Regions from separate parts of the Homo sapiens genome. Here region 1 is linked to region 2. The links are contacts of gene promoters, found by promoter capture Hi-C in blood cells and fetal thymus (Javierre and others, 2016). All regions are on one chromosome and are shown on one strand. Each heading gives the region's core, a stretch centred on a gene start or on the middle of the fragment in contact. The rest is flanking DNA. Distances are from core to core; before and after follow the strand shown.

Region 1 (3,913 bases), core at 103-2,602, 120 kb before region 2:
TCATCAGAAGAGTGTTTTAGAGTGTATGTGTGGGGAACGGGGTTGGTTTAAATAGGAGCACATGAGATTCAGTTACATCAATTTATTTTATTTAAATATAACAACTATTAGTGATACAGCATTCATTCATATTCAGCAAATATTTTCTGAGCATGTCCTATGCAGCAAGCATTGCCCTAGGCTCTGTGCATACGGTGGTGAACACAAACGTTGTCCTTGACCTCATAGTCCTTCCCCACTATAGTTTAGTAGGGAAGACAGCTGTCAACCAAATAATCATACACTTAAATGTACCACCAAAAATGGGTAAGTGTTATGAAGGAAAAATACAGCAAGTTACAGGAGGCTACAAGAGTATAAACTGGGGCACCATCTCTATTCTGAGATTATCGAGAAAGGTTATCCTGAGAAGTGACATTTAAGCTGGGGCCTGCGGAGATTGATTGCACGATTGCCTTGTCAAGAGACAGAGGAAGAGTGGCCTAGATGGAAGTAGCGGGTATGTGTGAGGGCCTGGACGGGGTCATGAGATGAGTGAGGGCCTGTGCCACAAGGTCACAGGGTTTCGGGCAATGGGGAAGCTTCAGAGATGGAGCTGCCTGACAGAGAGGTGGAGTGCAGGCTAAATGACCTCAGGAGCTTTGTCCTTCTTCAATTCCAGGGGGAAAATCACAAACTAGTTGGAAGTACCAGAGGGCTACAGAAAACAACAAAAAGAGACTAGCTGGTCGGCTAGGCACAATTAAAACATCAAATTCTGCCCCAGCAGCAATTCCGGGAAATTCAAGTAATGCCCCCTGTGTGGCCCTCTAGAACTGTATCTGGTAAGAGTAAAGGGCAGTGTGTCCTCTATGCCTGCGCTACAGATGTGGACATTTTTTTTAATTGCCTGAAAATTTCATAAGCTGTAGCCAGTTAGAGGGCCTAGCAATGTGTTGTGATCATGTGTTTTCCTGAGTTATTTGAAACAAGAGGGTGTATGTACTACCCTCTTGGCAAAATTAAAGGATTTTGAGCTAGGATAAATGAGGTAGATCAGAGGATAATTGCAGGAAGTGGGGCAGTGGCTAGCCCTGCTTGAGGGCTTAGGCCCAGGCTGCAGAGGAGCTAAGTGGAAGAGCAATATTTGACGGTCTATTGCCGCTGTGCCTACTAATCGGCTAGGGGAGGAGAAGGAGGACAAGGGAGACCAGGGTTGGACGATGAGCATGAAAGAAGAGTGGGCGAGCCAGGGAGCGCTTGCCACATGGAGGGCGGGAGGCGGCTACACCGGGTCCCCACCGCCGAGAAAGGGGCACGAGGAGGCGGCGCGGGCCCCGCCCCCTCCCCTGGCGGGCGCGGGCGCGGGCTCGAGACGCTGCGCGGCGGCAGCGGCGGGCGCGAGCGGCAGCTGTCAGGCCACCGAGGTCCAAGCCGCACTTGCTGCCCCATTGAGGACGAGGAGGCAGCAGGAGCAGTGACGGTGACTCTAAGGAGCCGGATTCCCGGCACGCAGAGCTGACCTGCCTGGCACCCGCGGCCCTCTCCTGTTTCCTTCCCATTGTGTTGGGTAAGGTGCCTGTGCGTGGGCAGGAACAGGGGCTAGGGGCTGGAGGACCCGGAAGGCCGGGAGGTGGGGGGCCTGTGAGAAGAGGGAGAAAGGAAAGTCTAGTTGATCCCCAGGACCACTCGTAGCTTGAGAAAAGGGACTGAGCCGCTCCCGAGGTCGGAGTCGGGGGCAGGTGACAGTGCAGGGGGGCGTTGCTGAGTAATCCCGAGCTGCTGCCAGAGCCGAGCAGAGAGGCGCAGGGCTCCGTGGGGAGCGGGTGTGGCTCAGTGCGCATGCGCCACAGCCGACTAGCTCTAAGAGCTGGGGGTGAGGTGAGAGGACCTGGGTCGGAGGTAGTTGGGACTATGTGTGACATCTCACTTTCTAGGTCCGTAATGCTAACAGTGCCCCTGTCGTAGAGATGCCAGCATTCTTGTCTCCCAAGGAAGCTTTTTTTCCTTGTGTTCAGCTCGCTTGATGTCATCCAAACCTTATCTACCTATCTGTCCCTGGGCAGTCTACTGAGGAAGAAGTGTCCTGGGGACGATGCCAGATTGCTATCTAGTGTGCCTTTGGGCTTATAGCCCTAGAGCTGTCGTTGTGAGCAGTGAAAGGTTAGATGTGGGACTCCACATTGGACCCTTTGAGTTGCATATAGGATATAAATGTGGGCATGAATGTAGGAATAGCGTTTCAGTGGCATGACAGCTGTGGCATTTGGAGTCGGCATGGATGTAGCTGATAACTTGTTAGCTCTGCAAAATGAATCCAGTGCGTCAGAGGGTTTCCGCGCTACGAAGCACCCACCACCAGCACCAACGCCAAGTATTGGGTTGTATTGGAAACACACTCAAACATTCAATCATTTCTCATCCGTGTTGAATTTTACATAAATATAGCCGCGCCCAATTCTTCAGTGCAATATTTCCAATTATTGTGCCAGCATTCAACAGTGAGTTGAGTAGCCCTTACCAGTGTGTCGCCACAAGATGGGCTTTCCCCACAGGTCCAACCATGGCTCCTCCCCTGTACAGACTTCCAACAGTGCCACTCTCATCCAGTGCCTAGCCCTCCCCAGTTGCTCTTCCCCTATCGATCCCTGCAGTACACATCCCTTTCAAGACTTGCCTCCGAGCAATCTGCACTACTGATTTTGAGCATCATTCCACTCCATGGCAACTGAACTGATGCGAATTTGCTTTTCTGCCTCTCTTCTCTCCATCATCATACTAAAATGTACTATTTTCAAAGGTTCAACTTCTTTTTCTTCATTGTACTGCCTCCTCCCCCACCTCCACTCCCACCTCTAAGCATTCCCAACTAAATACAATAATTTGAATAAGGCTTTGTGGGTACTGCAGATTCAGAAGGTTTCAAGTGTGTTAAAGAACAAAGAGCTGGGGAGTATTGGTTATGGAAATTCCTAATTCACCTTACTCTCCAAGACTGAGACCCTGATGGGAAAAAAAAAAGTTAGTAAACTATCCTTAGAGCATGCTCATTAATGAGTTTGTGGGGGTAGGAAAGGGGAATTGCGTCTCTCGAATATTTTACTCAGTTAGAGTCAGATCTTTCTCTGAATGGGATCAAAATCAGAATAAGCGTTTTGGTCCAAATGCTCGCCCGACAGAGGACCCATAAGGGATGCATACGTCATTTGACTTTCCTATTTACGTATTTAGTGTTATCAAAGAATTCATTTGCCTGCTTAATGTTACCTTGTTTAAAGGTTTGGATTAAATCCGGCATATTCTGGGGGAGGAAAAAATGATTTCATTTGCTTTTACACTGTGCTAGTTCTTTTTAATTTAAGTATGTACTAAAGGACATGACATTCATTTTCAAACAATGATAAATGATTGTGGAGAGGCCAGCACCCACCGACAACATCAACTGGATATCATTATTCTGCTCTTGTTTTGGGTAGGAATGGGGAAATGTATATACTTATTTTTAAAATGTGAGAGTAGGGGGAGGAAAACTGGAGCATTTCCCTTGACTTTCAACAGGTGGAATTCCCATTACTCCCCATCCAGAAAATGATCGAGTCAAGTTCATAACTTCTGCTCTTTAGTTACCTTATAAATAATAGTATTTTGGCATCTTACAGAACTATGGATCTATTGTACCTTGGCATCAATTCAGAGGCATTAATTCTGGGCACCTACCTAATCATTTAATTGGTAAACAAATATTTATTATCTCCATGGAGGATCCTGGTGCTGCACACTGAAGGGGCTTCAAAGATGTATACAGTGAGCTTACTATCTAGGAATTTAAAATTGATCATGTAAGAAAGACAGGAAAAGTTTGTTAACAAAATAAGTCAGTATAATGACATTATTTCAACTGTAAACAATGAGATCCTGAGCTTGCATGTTAATT
Region 2 (4,021 bases), core at 830-3,329:
TTGATTTTAATCTCTTTGATTACTTTAATCTCTTTGATTCTGTAAGTCAGTATAGTAGATTGATTAAGGGCATGGGCACACTGCTTGACATAGAATAAGCACTGAAGATATGTTAGCTAGTAGTAGAACCTTACCAAGTTAGCTAATAAGAGATTGCTTTGCCAGGCACGGGGGCTCACGCCTGTAATCCCAGCACTTTGGGAGGCCAAGGCGGGTGGATCACAAGGTTAGGAGTTCGAGACCAGCCTGACCAACATGGTGAAACCCTGTCTCTACTAAAAATACAAAAATTAGCCGGTGTGGTGGTGGGCACCTGTAATCCCAGCTACTCAGGAGGCTGAGGCAGGAGAATCACTTGAAGCTGGCAGTGAGCTGAGATCACACCACTGCACTCCAGCCTGGGCAACAGAGTGAGACTCCATCTCAAAAAATAAGTAAATAAATAAATAAATAAAAAGAGATTGCTTTGAGTAGTAATTGCTCCCCCACAACCGGGAGGAAGGTAGCCCAGGTTGTCATACACTAATTGGTGGTTAAGAATTCAACAATCAGGCATTGGTGTCTTTCTAGGGGAGCATTATAAGAGGACCCCCATAACTAAGTTGGAATTGAGAAACCACCACTTGCCTGTTCTGACTGTTGGATTTCTTCTTCTTGATCTTCATTGGGTGCATTAGAGTTGTTGGGCTTGAGTTGTTGTTCTCCCTCACTCTTTTCTGTTAACCTCATTTCTTCTACAGTAAAGTGATCACCTGGGGAAATATAAAAGAAATCTTGTCGTCATGACAACAGAGGCAGTTTACCCCCAATTGCCCAGACAATAGGTGCTAGGTAAGTTGTCATGACAACAGAGGTGCCTGGGCCAGCCTCACAGAAGCAAGTGTCCAATTATGAGCAAAGCTGAAAGGCTTAACTGAGCTACATACTGGTTGCTTAACCATTAGAGACACAGAGTTCTGGTCTGTCTTCAGCTCTGACTCCATGTTTTCTGTCTAATCTGGAGGCTCTAAAGCCAGAGAGGCAAGAGCATAATGACCTCTGGGGGATGGGAAACAATGCTGTGAACCCACTCTTAAAATCCTGACTCTAGCTTGTCTGGGCCACACTAGCACAAGGAATGTTCTCTCCTCAACACACCACCTCCCACCTCAGCTGCTCCAGGGGCACCCCTACCGTATGTCCGCACTAAAAATATCTCACAAACTACCTCCTTGGTTTCATGTCCCTTGCTAAGGTTCCTTTCTGCTGAGGGCAGGGCTCCTGTCTCATCTAGTGGTTTGAATTTATCAGTCCCTACCCTTTAGTCCTTTAGTTGGTCCCTGGGCAGTACGCCCTCTAGTGGACTAATCCACAACTACATGTCCTCGAGTAGGACTCATTCTTCAAGAAACCTAAAAGCATTTCCTAACCCATACCAAGGGTTAGAAAAATATGTGTATACACCTAGCAGAAGGGCAAGAAAAAAGGACACTCCATTTTCTTTTTTCTTTTTTTTTTTTTTTTTGAGACGGAGTCTCGCTCTGTCGCCCAGGCTGTAGTGCAGTGGCGTGATCTGGGCTCACTGCAAGCTCCGCCTCCCGGGTTCACGCCATTCTCCTGCGTCAGCCTCCTGAGTAGCTGGGACTACAGGCGCCCGCCACCACGCCCGGCTAATTTTCTGTATTTTTAGTAGAGACAGGGTTTCACCGTGTTAGCCAGGATGGTCTCGATATCCTGACCTCGTGATCCGCCCGCCTCGGCCTCGCAAAGTGCTGAGATTACAGGCGTGAGCCCCCGCGCCCGGCCAGGACACTCCATTTTCTAAGCTAACTGTCCCCACCCCCTCTTTAGCTGTGTCGAACAAATCTGCCTGCAGGTACCAAGATCTTATCTTTATAGGAGTTTTGATCTTGGTGCCTTCTCAATGCCTACCTTGGAAAAAAAAAAGCAGACTGCCAACCAATCCAGAGTCCTTTCACCAGCTAAGTTGCCTGTATGGATGTCCCAGCAACAAAAAGGCTGCCATTGTTACTGTAGAGCTATTCCAGGTTGACTCTAGTCCCACCTCCTTTCCTGAACTCCTGCAACCCGCAACTGCCTGCAGCCTGTCCCCTCCTGCTCATATATATAGGCTGATCCTGAGCTCATAATGGAGTCTGTCATGACCAGTGCTCAATTATTACAAAGTTACAACAGCAGCCTGGGCCTTGCTTAGGACTCTGGGGCCTGCCTAAAAGTGGGCTGAGGCTTTTTTTAACGTGAATTATTATTATTATTAACGTGAATAAAACTGAAAATCAAACCCGTGCCATTCGTCATGTCCTTTTTTGAGTCTTCTAAAGTCACTGTTATCCCAGGACCTGTAGCAGGTATTTTGGAGGCACCAAGCAGGCTGAAAAAATTGTTGGAGAGTTCATCCATTTCTAGAACCTCTGTCCGGGCCCTACTGCTCCAGCTAGGGAAAAAGAATTCTTCAGTCTGAGAGGGCAGGGAGAAAATCCATGTGATCTCCAGGGAACCCTTAGCCAAGAGTCAGTTAGGAGTGTTCTAGGAACCAGCCAGCCATTCACATCTTTTCTTCTCAACTCTCTCCTCAACCAACAACTCCATAGCATGGTGGCCCCCTTTCATGTCACTGCCTAAAGTGGTTTACTTTTTACCCATGCAATCCTACACTGTCTTCCCGGCTAGTCCATAAGCTTCCCCAGGAAAGGGAAGCTCTTTTTCATCTCCTCAGCAGGCCTTAGCACCAGGCTCTGGACACAGCAGTCATGTAACCCAGCTCACCAACTTTTACAGGCTGATTGGAGAGGACTGTCTTTCAAACTGGACAGAGCAAAAGCTTTGCCATGATCAATAGAATAACTTGATAACTGGAAGAAATTTCAAAATACTGCCCAGTCCTCTCAAGGGCTTGGTCCCAGAACCCTGCCCACCTCTCTTCATCCTCCAGCACCCTCTTCATTCCCCATTCTCTAATCCCTTTTTTTCTAGCCCCTCTCACTTCAATACAAATCACTCTTTCCCATCTCCACACTTTACCTCCTACACTGTGCATTCCCTCCTTAGCGTGGTTTTGAGATATCTTCCCTCTCTAGCTTCTCAGTCCTTCTCCCCTATAGATAGCCAGGGGAAAAAAAGTTCTATTTTAATAGGCATGTAAGCCACAAAGTGGTATTTAAGGCTCCAATGTTCCTTTCCAGCACACACACACACACACACACACCCCACACACAAACACCCCTCAGAATTTGGCCTAAATAGAGAATACCCAAATGCAGGATGCCCCACCCCTGGATTTCAAGCCATTCATCTTTGCTCCTCCAGCTACAACAGGTGCAGTATGTTAAAGTCACAAAAAGCCAAGACCAGCTTACTCTGTTGGCCATATTTTCTCTCCTGTGTGAAATGGCTTTTTCCAGCCTGGGAAATGTGTCCAAATAACTCCCTTTAGATTTATTATGATTGGAGAAAAGGGAAAATAATTAGATCTATAGAAACAGAAATAGCAGTTGGATCCAACTTTCCCCCTCAGAGCTTTTTTGCCAACATCCTTTGCTTACATCCTCTAGCCAGGGTAGGGCTCAGGGGATCAGGGTGAGTACTGGGCAACAGGGTCATCTGAGGGACCCTGAACTGGAAATCAAAGGAGAAAACCATTTTACTTACTCCCCTCATTTTAAAATTATTGCAAAATATTTTGTTTGCCTCTGGTTCTTCACCTCGAAAATGGGTCCAGCACAACCTCCTTTGTCAGAATAGTGTAAAAATGAATTACAGAGTACATGTGAGGTGAACCAAGGCCTGTCTTTATGATGACAGGTCAGTTTCTAGTCATGTCATTATCAAGGGTTACTAGGACCTACAACACCAACATCTCATACACAAAGCCACTTTTCTTTTTTTTTTTCTTTTTCTTTTTTTTTTTTTGAGATGGAGTCTCGCTCTGTCACCCAGGCTAGAGTGCAATAGCGCAATCTCTGCTCACTGCAACCTCCGCCTCGTGGGTTCAAGCGATTCTCCTGCCTCAGCCTACTGAGTA

What was found. The method cuts DNA at HindIII sites, captures the fragments that hold promoters and counts their contacts. A CHiCAGO score of 5 or more calls a contact.
Region 1: the fragment with the promoter of RAB9B here is called in contact with the fragment with the promoter of TMEM31 in region 2 in 1 of 17 cell types (M2 macrophages); the score reaches 6.4 in M2 macrophages.

Annotation. Positions count from the first base shown.
Region 1 is chrX:103,829,696-103,833,608 of GRCh38, reverse strand. It overlaps RAB9B (RAB9B, member RAS oncogene family), which reads left to right and starts at 1,352. Exons shown (of 3, transcript NM_016370.4): 1 at 1,352-1,549. The HindIII fragment of the contact is 1,396 bases long and covers 584-1,979 here.
Region 2 is chrX:103,708,967-103,712,987 of GRCh38, reverse strand. It overlaps TMEM31 (transmembrane protein 31), which reads right to left and starts at 2,079. Exons shown (of 3, transcript NM_182541.2): 1 at 1,912-2,079; 2 at 628-752. The coding sequence starts at 729. It also overlaps the pseudogene GLRA4. The HindIII fragment of the contact is 10,178 bases long and covers 1-2,680 here.